Regions from separate parts of the Homo sapiens genome. Here region 2 is linked to region 1. The links are contacts of gene promoters, found by promoter capture Hi-C in human tissues and cell types (Jung and others, 2019). All regions are on one chromosome and are shown on one strand. The core of a region is centred on a gene start or on the middle of the fragment in contact, and the rest is flanking DNA. Distances in the headings are between cores, read along the strand shown.

Region 1 (4,922 bases), core at 2,268-4,767:
GTTAACAAAATGTTTACAGGCAGCATGCTTGGTAAAAGTCATCGCCATTCTCCATTCTCGATAAACCAGGGGCACAATGCACTGCAGAAAGCCGCAGGGATCTCTGCCCTGGAAAGCCAGGTATTGTCCAAGGTTTCTCCCCACGTGATAGCCTGAAATATGGCCTGGTGGGATGGGAAAGACCTGACCGTCCCTCAGCCTGACACCCGTGAAGGGTCTGTGCTGAGGAGGATTAGTAAAAGAGGAAGGCCCCTTGCCGTTGAGATAAGAGAAAGGCCTCTGTCTTCTGCCTGCCCCTGGGAACTGAATGTCTCAGTATAAAACCTGATTGTACGTTTGTTCTGAGATAGGAGAAAAAACGCCCTGTGGCGGGAGGCGAGACATGTTGGCAGCAATGCTGCTCTGTTACTCTTTACTCCACTGAGATGTCTGGGTAGAGAGAAGCATAAATCCGGCCTACGTGCACATCCAGGCATAGTACCTTCCCTTGAACTTATTCGTGACACAGATTCCTTTGCTCACGTGTTTTCTTGCTGATCTTCTCCCCACTATCACCCTGCTCTCCTGCCACATTCCTCTTGCTGAGATAGTGAAAATAGTAATCAATAAATACTGAGGAAACTCAGAGACCAGTGCCGGTGCGGGTCCTCCGTATGCTGAGTGCCGGTCCCCTGGGCCCACCTTTCTTTCTCTATACTTTGTCTGTGTCTTATTTCTTTTCTTAGTCTCTCCTCCTGCCTGAGGAGAAATACCCACAGGTGTGGAGGGGCTGGCCCCCTTCAGCTGGGAAGGGGAAGGGGGCAGTTAGCTGTTGCTGGGTGGGTCAGGCAGGGGGAGAAGAGGGGATTCCAGCATGAGATGGGCTCCAGCTCCAAGGTGCTCAGGCTTGGATCTGTGCTGAAGGTGAAGGGAAGGGAGCAGTAGGGTGTGTAGTGCCCACCCCTCACCTGGCTCACTCACCAAAACACTGTGAGTAGAGTTCCCTGCGGACAGGGCAGATGCCTGTTTCCCTGGCCTGCCGCTGCTGCAGCTTTAAGTCTAACTGCTCCTGGAGGTGCACCACGTCCATCCTGGTGCTAGGGGTGCTGGACACCTGCTGGATCCATAGCTGCGTGTCTTCCACCCACTCCCTGTGGCAGACACAGCGAGGCTGAGCAAAACCCGTTGACTTGAAGGTCCCTAGCACATGAGCAGAGGGCCCTTTGAGCCCTCTGCCTGAGTAGTGGTGAGGGGCAGCTTTGCCACCAACCCACCAGAATCCTCCATCCCTTGGGGTGTGAGGCTCCAAAGCCACACCCACTATGCTGCCTCCACAGGGATCTTGGGAATGGGTAGGTGGTAGACAATTTCCACCTTGGCAACGGGCCTCTGTGAAATCATTCCCCACTGTTCCAGATCTTACCCTCCTAACATGCTGAAGACCGATTTATGGTTGTTGCTTGATGTGAACAGTAGGAACTACCCACCAACTTACGGGGTGGGAAACACAGGACATCATGAACCTTGTGCGAGCCAGAAAGAGGCAGATGTGTGTATCGGGGTGGAGAGGTTCATGAAGGTGTGTGCCTGCGTAGGCCCCCATTTCCCTTTTCCTCATAGCCTTACCAACTGTGCTGTCAACTTATTACATAAAAATAGATGAAAAGGCATGTCCTTTTATCAATGTGGCTGCAGAAGAAAAAAGCAAGAAAAGGAGATCATGTTGGGCAGGGGTGCTCTGCTATAGCAAATTCTCAAGGAAGGCCTGGAAGAAATGAAAGGAACCAGGAGAATATCAAGGGGAGAACATCTTTGGCAGTGAAAACACCAGCTGTCAGGGCCCTGTGGTAGGAGAGTGAATGAGGCATTTCAGAAATAGCAAGTGAGGTCCCTGTGGATTCAGCACAGTGAACAAGAAACAGAATAACAGGAGATAAGGTCAGGGATACATCGTAGGCCAGATCATGCCACATCTTCCAGGCCATTGTAAGGATTTTTGATTTTAGTCTGAGATGGGAAGCCACAAAAGAGTTTCTGGCAGAGACTGGCATGATCTGACTTATGACTTAGGGGCTGTATGGAGGATAGATTCTAGGAGCAGAGTGGAAGCAGTGTTTTCAGATAGGAGGCCACTGCAGCAGTGCGAGTGGCCACCAGTGACTAGGAGCAAGATGGTGGAAGCAGAGGTGGTGAAAAGTGGTTGGATTTGGGAAAGAATTTGAAGGTGGAGCCAAAAGAATGTGACGAAGGATAGGACACATGCTGTGAGAGTGATCAAAAGGAATGAAAGGTGGTTTGAGTCCCTAGTAAAAAGGAGAATACGGGGGATGAGCAGATTGGGGAAGGAAGAAATTGTGATTTAGTTTGAATATATTGAGTTTGAGATGTCTATTAGATATCTTCATGAAGATAATGAGGAAGCAGAAGACTATATGGTCCTGGAGTTTAGTGGAGAAGACAGGGCTGGAAATACACATTTGGGAGCCATCAGCACATAGGTGGTATCTAAAGCCATGAGATTGGGTGACAGCATGCAGGAAATGAGGGTAGATTGAGAAGAGGTCTCCCACCACCCTGCCAGGATCCAGCCATATGTAAGTTCTAGGAGCTCTGTGATACTGGGAGGAAACCCCAGCCAGGAACAGAGGCAGAGTGCCTCCCCCCACACTCCCAAAATCCACGATGTAAAAGCTTAGGCCTTCTCCCAGCCACTGCTCCTACTTTCTTACCTTGGGGGTAGTATGGCATTCAAGATTTCTTCTGCCTGCTTTGTAGGATCTGGGACACAGGGAGTTGAGGGGAGCTTGGTCTTGGGTGGCTGTGGGGCTGAACCTGAAGGTCCAGGCTGCTGGGGGCTGACTTTCAGTAGCCGAGCCTGAGATGAAGGCACAGGTGAGGGCAGGAAATTGTTCAGGAGCTCAGCTCCACACATCCCCAACCTGTATATTGCTCCAGGTCTTCTGCACAGCCCTCCCCTCTTCCTAGCCTACTTTGGGTCGGTCTTCTCAGCAGAAATTATGTCACAGAGCTGAAGGAGGCCATGAAGTCTGGCCCCAACTCAATGCTTGAACAGGTGTTTCTGGCGCATGTGCTTTCACACCTCTGGTGATGGGGAAATCACTACCTAGTCATCTGTTCTTGGACCCGCGTACCATTAAGAAGAGTGAGCCCCATCCATCTCCCTGTGACCTCCTTCCCCATCCTAAATCTGCCCTCTGGGGTCACACCCAACATCTGGGCTTCCTATACAATCCTCTCACCCTCCTTCTCTGACTTCCCAATTCCCTTTACTCCCAGTCGCTGCAATCCCCGTCCCTTGAGATTCCTGACCCTCCATGCGGGAATGTGTCTTTCCCTATCGGAGTTTCGAGGCTCCTTTGTCTCCCGAGCCCCCGTCTTTACCTTGGGGCTCCGTTTCTCCGTGTTCCGGCTCACCAGCACTGGGGTGTCGTACTTGAGCAAAGAGTCTGCGGGCGGAATCATGGCGGAGGCGAGAGTAGCAACCCAGCAGCTGCCCTGTCCAGTGTGGGCCTTGTTTGCCGTCACCATGGAAACCGCCCCCTCACTCCCGCCCCCGCGCTTCTTGGCCTGGGCGGAGCTTCGAAGTGGGGCGGGGCCAACAGCCGGCAAGTTTCATTCTGTGCCTCCTGGGCAGAAACCTCTTGTGCCTGACTTCTTAGGCCTTCTGCTCACCGGTTCGTCCCTGTACTCTTGGAGGCGAGGAAAACGGCAGTTCGAGTCCCTATGCTCCGTCTAGCTAGCGATTTGAAGTGGGCAGATCACCTTTGCCATGCTCCAATTTTGTCACCTGAAAAACAGGAGTCATCTCCTGACTTCTCATGAAGGGTTAAGGGACAATTCCCAAAGGAAGTCATCTGGAGTTCCTAGGTTTTTTGAAGGTTTTTTTTGTTGTTGTAGTTGTTCCCAAAATGTGTTCATTGAGATTGTTTCCCACTCATCTTGATTCAGAGTGCTTTTAGTGCTGCTTCCTCCTGAAGGAACATCCTTCTGTAAGCCTTACTTTTCCTCCTGTAGGCTGGCAGAGGACAGTGGAGCAGCCAACACACAAAACTGCCGTTTGTGCATGGCTAAAGACTGTGGTGATTTTATAGCATCCTGGGCATTTCACATCCATGAAGTAGGAATTGGGGCTCTGCACCAGGCGTTTCTTCTTGTGTTTCCTCTTCTCCTCTTCTGGGGAGGGATGAAGGAGATCCTTTGCGAGAGGCATGTTCTCGTGGGTAGGTCGTCACCGCAAGAAAGGGCTTGTTTTGATTTTTAAATTGAGACGGAGTCTCTCTCTGTTGCCCAGGCTGAAGTGCAGTGGCGTGATCTCGGCTCACTGCAACCTCCGCCTCCCGGGTTCAAACGATTCTCCTGCTTCAGCCTTCTGAGTAGCTGGGACTACAGGCGCGTGCCCCCATGCCCGGCTAAATTTTGTATTTTTAGTAGAGACGGGGTTTCACCACGTTGGCCAGGCTGGTCTCGAACTCCTGACCTCGTGGTCCGCCTGCCTCGGCCTCCCAAAGTGCTGGGATTACAGGCGTGAGCCACCGCGCCCAGCCTGAAGTATTTTTCTAATTAAATGGAGAAATGACAAAGTAGGAGCCAATGGGAAACCTCCCCTTTGCCCCCTGAAGATTCGCTCAAAAATCAATTCACAAAAGGCAGATTAATTGGAGAAAAGGCATACAAATGTATTTAAAATGTATACACGGGGAGAATCACAGTATGATTACCCACCCCGAAAAGGGTTCAGAAGCTTATATACCCTCCTGGTAAAACAGGTTTGTGAGGGTGGGAGAAGGAGGAATTCTGTTCAGGGATTACTAGGCAGAATGAATGAATAAGGGAACAGAGATAAATTTGTAAATAGTTTTTTGTGTTTTTTTTTTTGTTTTGGTTTGGTTTTTTTGAAGACAGGGTCTCACTCTGTAGCCCTG
Region 2 (5,263 bases), core at 410-2,909, 64 kb after region 1:
GGGATTACAGGCGTGAGCCACCGCACCCGGCCGGTCACATACATTTTTAATGATGAAAAATTCCCTTTAATTAAATAATAAATTGTTAATACTAGCTCTTTTTTTTTTTGGACTGGTGAATTCAGGTGCTCTAATAAGAGCAAAATTGATGTTTCAATCCCTTTATGGACTCAGAAGGCAGACCATTTTCAGATGTGAAATATTGTACATTATATTTGGAATAGAATCTTTTTTTAAATTTTTTTTTTGTGTGTGTGACAGGGTCTGGCTCTGTCACCCAGGCTAGAGTGCAATGGTGTGATCTTGGCTCACTGCAACCTCTGCCTCCCAGGCTCAAGCCGTCCTCCCACCTCAGACTCCTGGGTAGCTGAGACCACAGGCATGAGCCACCACACCTGGCTAATTTTTGTGTTTTTTGTAGAGACATGGTCTTAATTTGTTACCCAGGCTGGTCTCGAGCTCCTGACCTCAAGTGATCTGCCCGCCTGGGCCTCCCTAAGTGCTGGGATTATAGGCCTGAGCCACCACGCCTGGCCTGAAATACAATCTTTTTTTTTTTTTTTTTTTTTGAAACAGAGTTTCACTCTTGTCACCCAGGCTGGAGTGCAATGGCGCGATCTTGGCTCACTGCAACCTCCGCCTTCCAGGTTCAAGCGATTCTCCCACCTCAGCCTCCTGAGTAGCTGGAATTACAGGTGCCCACCACCATGTCTGGCCAATGTTTTGTATTTTTAGTAGAGACGGGGTTTCACTATGCTGGCCAGGCTGGTCTCGAACTCCTGACCTCGTGATCTCCCTGCCTCGGCTTCCCAAAGTGCTGGGATTACAGGTGTGAGCCACTGTGCCTGGCCTGAAATATAATCTTTAGCTATAGAGCAGTCCCCTAGTAGAGTTGTTTATGAGATTTTTTTTTTCCTTTAGGGTCAAACAACTGTTCTGCCGAGAGTAAGTTGGGACTTTTGTTTTTCTTTCTTTAGGACTATTAGAAGACACATTAGTGCAGAAGCTTCCAGGCTGTAGAGCCCTGCTTCCCTTCTCTGACCTCACAAAGATAAACATCCTTCACCTGAGTTCGTGGCCATCCACCTCTGCTCTCCCAGACCCAGTGCCTGTGACTTTGAGTAGTTTGTTCTAAATGTGGTGACAAACAAGTCATTTCTGTAAGACATTGGGTCTTACTTTATGTCATTTTTAGTAACAGAACTGCAGGAAGATGAAGACAATGTTGTAATCCCAGCAAGTTGCTAACTGTGCGTTTCTCCCTTCTTAGAATGAATGTCTCCCCCAAAACTGGCTGGCACCAGCTTCATCTGTGATACCCTTCAAGAAATGTTCTCTGGTTTTGTTTTATGCTGAAAGTAGAACACAAGTCACATTTCAGATGGAGGCTGTAAATATCTGGCATTTTCTTATATTGTTTTATGTTTTCTTGTTTTTCTCTTGTTGTTTTTATCTTATTTTCTTTGGGGTTTTTTTGTAATGCCTTTGTACAGCTCATACTTTCCTGCTGACATATCTGATCATCTCTTTCATGCAGTTGCCAATATTCATAACTGAAAATAATCTGGTTTATCATAAGTAAAATGGGAAACTTGCCTCTGTTTTTTGCAAGGGGAGGTAAAGAGTGTTTAGTAATTACCTATCTTAAATCTTTCTGAGTTGGTAGTAGATTCATGTTCAAGGAACAGGAAAAATGGAAAAACATAAGTTTAAATCAGTTCTTTTTAAATAACTTTTTATTCTTTTGTATAAATAAAATTTCACAGGCTTCAAATTCTCATGCTTTACTTTTAAACCCGAGATTGTTTTTTCACTTATTTATTCATATCATGCCTTATGGAAATTTCTTTTTCTGTATTTTCTCTCTTTGCTGGTATTCACCTGATTAAATATTGCTCTAAAAATCACCATGGCATATGGAAAGTCTCAAAATTATACCAAAAGTGATAACTTATGTCGTTCTTAAGTGGAGTGAAAGGATAGCATCAGTGAGAGCCAGTGTTGCCCACCAGGTCTCCCTTTCTTGGAGGGCTTGTTGGGGCTGAGGAATCTGCTAGTAATCGTTACCTGCCTCTAGTGCTGTGGTGAACTTGCGACAGGGTCTGGCTGCACATTGGAATCACCTGAGAAGCTTTAAAATACTCATGCCTGGATCCCATCCCTAGAGACTGGGGTACAGCCTAGTTATTGGGAATTTCTTTAAAAGAGTTCCTGGGATTCTGATAAGAAGCCAGGTTGAGAACCACTACATTAGAAGACTGAATGGTTTAATTTACATCCTATGTTATGATTGGTCTAAGGGATAAGATTTGGGGTCTAACCTTTCCTTTCACTCTAGTTAGTCATAGTCCTTGACTTATGCCTATATCTTTGTAAGAAATAGTATGTTTCATTTGTGATAGTATTGGTAGGGCTGAATATGGATGGCATCTACTGTAAAACAAGTCTACCTTGTCAGATGTGCAAAAGCTTTCACTCTTGTTCTCAAATAAACTTTTGTGGGTTTTTTTTTTTTTTTTTTTTTGACTCTGGCTATTTAGATCTTTGACTGTGTCTTTGGTAGCAGAACTCCAGTGTCAGGATTTTTAAGGAAATAGTTTCTTATATTTAGATTATTCCTTAAAAAAAAAAATCCTAGAAGCATTCTGTATTTTTTGTCTGTTGGTCTCCTTTGCTGGGAGGGAGGAGTGGGATGCCTACAGTTTCCTTCCTTTTGGGGAAAGCACACAGCAGACCTTAAAATATTTTTGACTCTTGGGCTGGGTGCGGTGGCTCACACCTGTAATCCCAGCACTTTGGGAGGCCGAAGCGGGCGGATCACGAGGTCAGGAGATCGAGACCATCCTGGCGAACACAGTGAAACCCCATCTCTACTAAAAATGCAAAAAATTAGCTGAGCGTGGTGGCGGGTGCCGGTAGTCCCAGCTACTCGGGAGGCTGAGGCAGGAGAATGGCATGAACCTGGGAGGCGGAGCTTACAGTGAGCTGAGATAGTGCCACTGCACTCCAGCCTGGGCGACAGAGCGAGACTCCATCTCAAAAAAAAAAAATATTTTTGACTCTTAACAGTTTGAGATTGCTAGAGATGGAATAGTACTGCTCTGTTGCGCCACTGCACTCCAGCAGCCTGGGCGACAGAGCGAGACTCTGTCAAAAAAAAAAAAAAAAAGAAAGAATAGTACTGCTCTTAAAAAGATTATTTACGTATTTATGAAACTGCAGTGGGATGCCTAGTTTCCTTCCCTCTGAGGAAAGCACACAGCAGACCTTAAAATATTTTTGACTCTCATAGTTTGACATTGCTGGAGACAGAATAGTACTGCTCTTAAAAAGATTATTTAAGTATTTATATATTTTATTTATTTATTTATTTATTTATTTATTTATTGACAGGATCTTGCTCTGTCACCCAGGCTGGAGTGCAGCGGCCTGATCAAAGCTCAGTGCAGCCTCGAACTTCTGGGGTCAAGCCATCTTCCTGCTTCAGCCTTACTAGTACCTGGGACTATAGGTGCATGCCACCATTCCCAGCTAATTTAAAACATTTTTATTTTGTAATGATGGCTTCTTGCTATGTTGCCCAGGCTGGCCTCAAGCAGTCCTCCTGGCCTCAAGCAGTCCTTCTGCCTTGGCCTCCCAAAGTGCTGGGATTATAGGTATCAAGCAATTCTCCTGCCTCAGCCTCCCCAGTAGCTGGGACTACAGGCATGCACCACCATGCCCATCTAAGTTTTGTATTTTTAGTGGAGATGGGGTTTTGCCATGATGGGCAGGCTGGTCTCGAACTCCTGACCTCAGGTAATCCACCCACCTCAGCCTCCCAAAGTGCTGGGATTACAGGCATGAGCCCTGGCACCTGGCAATATAGAGTATTCTTGACATCTTGACCTGTGCAGTAAAGAAGATAATTAAAATGAGCGATAAATAGTCTAAGCTTGAAAGTTAAAGAGCCTAAGCTTGAAACACTCTGTGACTTAGTTTTTGCATTTATTCTGTCTTCTATGCCCCCCAACCTTACTCCAAATTAATGAGGCATTATTTTATTTATTTATTTTTTTGAGACAGAGTCTTGCTCTGTCGTCCAGGCTGGAGTGCAGTGGCACAATCTTGGCTCACTGCTACCTCCGCCTCCAGGGTTCAAGCAATTATTCCGCCTCAGCCTCTCGAGTAGCTGAGACTACAGGCGCGTGCTACCACACCCAGCTAGTTTTTTTTTATTTTCAATAGAGACCGGGTTTCACCATATTGGCCAGGCTGGACTCAAACTCCTGACTTCGTAATCCACCTGCCTCAGCCTCCCAAAGTGCTAGGATTACAGGCGTGAGCCACTGCACCCGGCCTAATGAGGCATTATTGCTTAAAAATTCACATCAAGCTGGGCATGGTGATATGCACCTTTAGTCCCAGCTGCTTGGGAGGCTTAGAGGCAGCAGGATCGCTTGAAGCCAGAAGTTCAAGGCTACAGTATGCTATGATCATTTCTGTGAATGGCCACTGCACTTCAGCCTGAGTAACGTAGCAAGACGCTGTCTCCAACAGAAAATTGACATCTGAAGCCTTGACTACAGGGGGACTATACTGGTTTATGTGAAGTGTGGGGAGAGAGCAGGATTGTGCTTCTTTGTACACATTTGCTTCTCCCAGGATAGTGTCATAGTGCCTAGGAAGGTGATGTGTGTGTCAGATACAATGATAGTGAAAAGAAGGGATTGGAATTTTCATACCTGTGTCAGTCTAAATGAGCATTACCTTGTCTGAATTGTCTAAGTGGTAAGCTTCGTGATTTGAAACAGTTTTCACTTTGAAAAACTGCTTCCGTGGATTAAAAGTTGTCACCACTAAAGTGGGCTGTGGTGGAGTCGATGCTGATCCTCACTTAGGGCAGTGGCCTCCAAGGGGAAGAGGGCACACAGGATGGCTGGGTGGGGGTGGGAAGAAAAGATTAGGCCTTTGATTTATATTCATTTTGAGGCTCAGCCTTATTTAGTTTCTCACTTTGGATGTATTTTATATATATACATCAAATATACATCAATATTAGTTCATTAGTACATGTAGGTCATTAATTTATAAATAAAAGGTTGAACCACAATAAACTGCTGATAATTGTTTTTGATCTGTAAAAGTGGCAGTTATCATAGTTTAACAGCATATACATGTTGGAGGTGTATATGCTTCAAGTTTTTACTGTTTGTGTACAGAAAATAAACTTTGGAGACCCCTAGCCCCCTCCTCAGCTCCCAACCCCCACCCTGATAACTTA

Evidence for each region. The method cuts DNA at HindIII sites, captures the fragments that hold promoters and counts their contacts. A contact is called where the count stands out against the background at its distance.
Region 2: a contact is called between a fragment that was not itself captured here and the fragment with the promoter of DNALI1 in region 1, in 1 of the 25 tissues and cell types used here (spleen).

Annotation. Positions count from the first base shown.
Region 1 is chr1:37,555,535-37,560,456 of GRCh38, reverse strand. DNALI1 (dynein axonemal light intermediate chain 1) reads right to left here and starts at 3,517. Exons shown (of 6, transcript NM_003462.5): 1 at 3,382-3,517; 2 at 2,709-2,854; 3 at 961-1,130. The coding sequence starts at 3,462. It also overlaps the pseudogene RPS27P9. RefSeq lists enhancers at 3,435-3,729, 3,940-4,910. The HindIII fragment of the contact is 4,106 bases long and covers 1-3,706 here.
Region 2 is chr1:37,489,822-37,495,084 of GRCh38, reverse strand. MEAF6 (MYST/Esa1 associated factor 6) reads left to right here. Exons shown (of 7, transcript NM_001270875.3): 7 at 978-5,092. The coding sequence ends at 986. Among named protein-coding and RNA genes, the nearest start is that of MIR5581, 8.5 kb to the left of the region's middle. The HindIII fragment of the contact is 5,415 bases long and covers 1-4,366 here.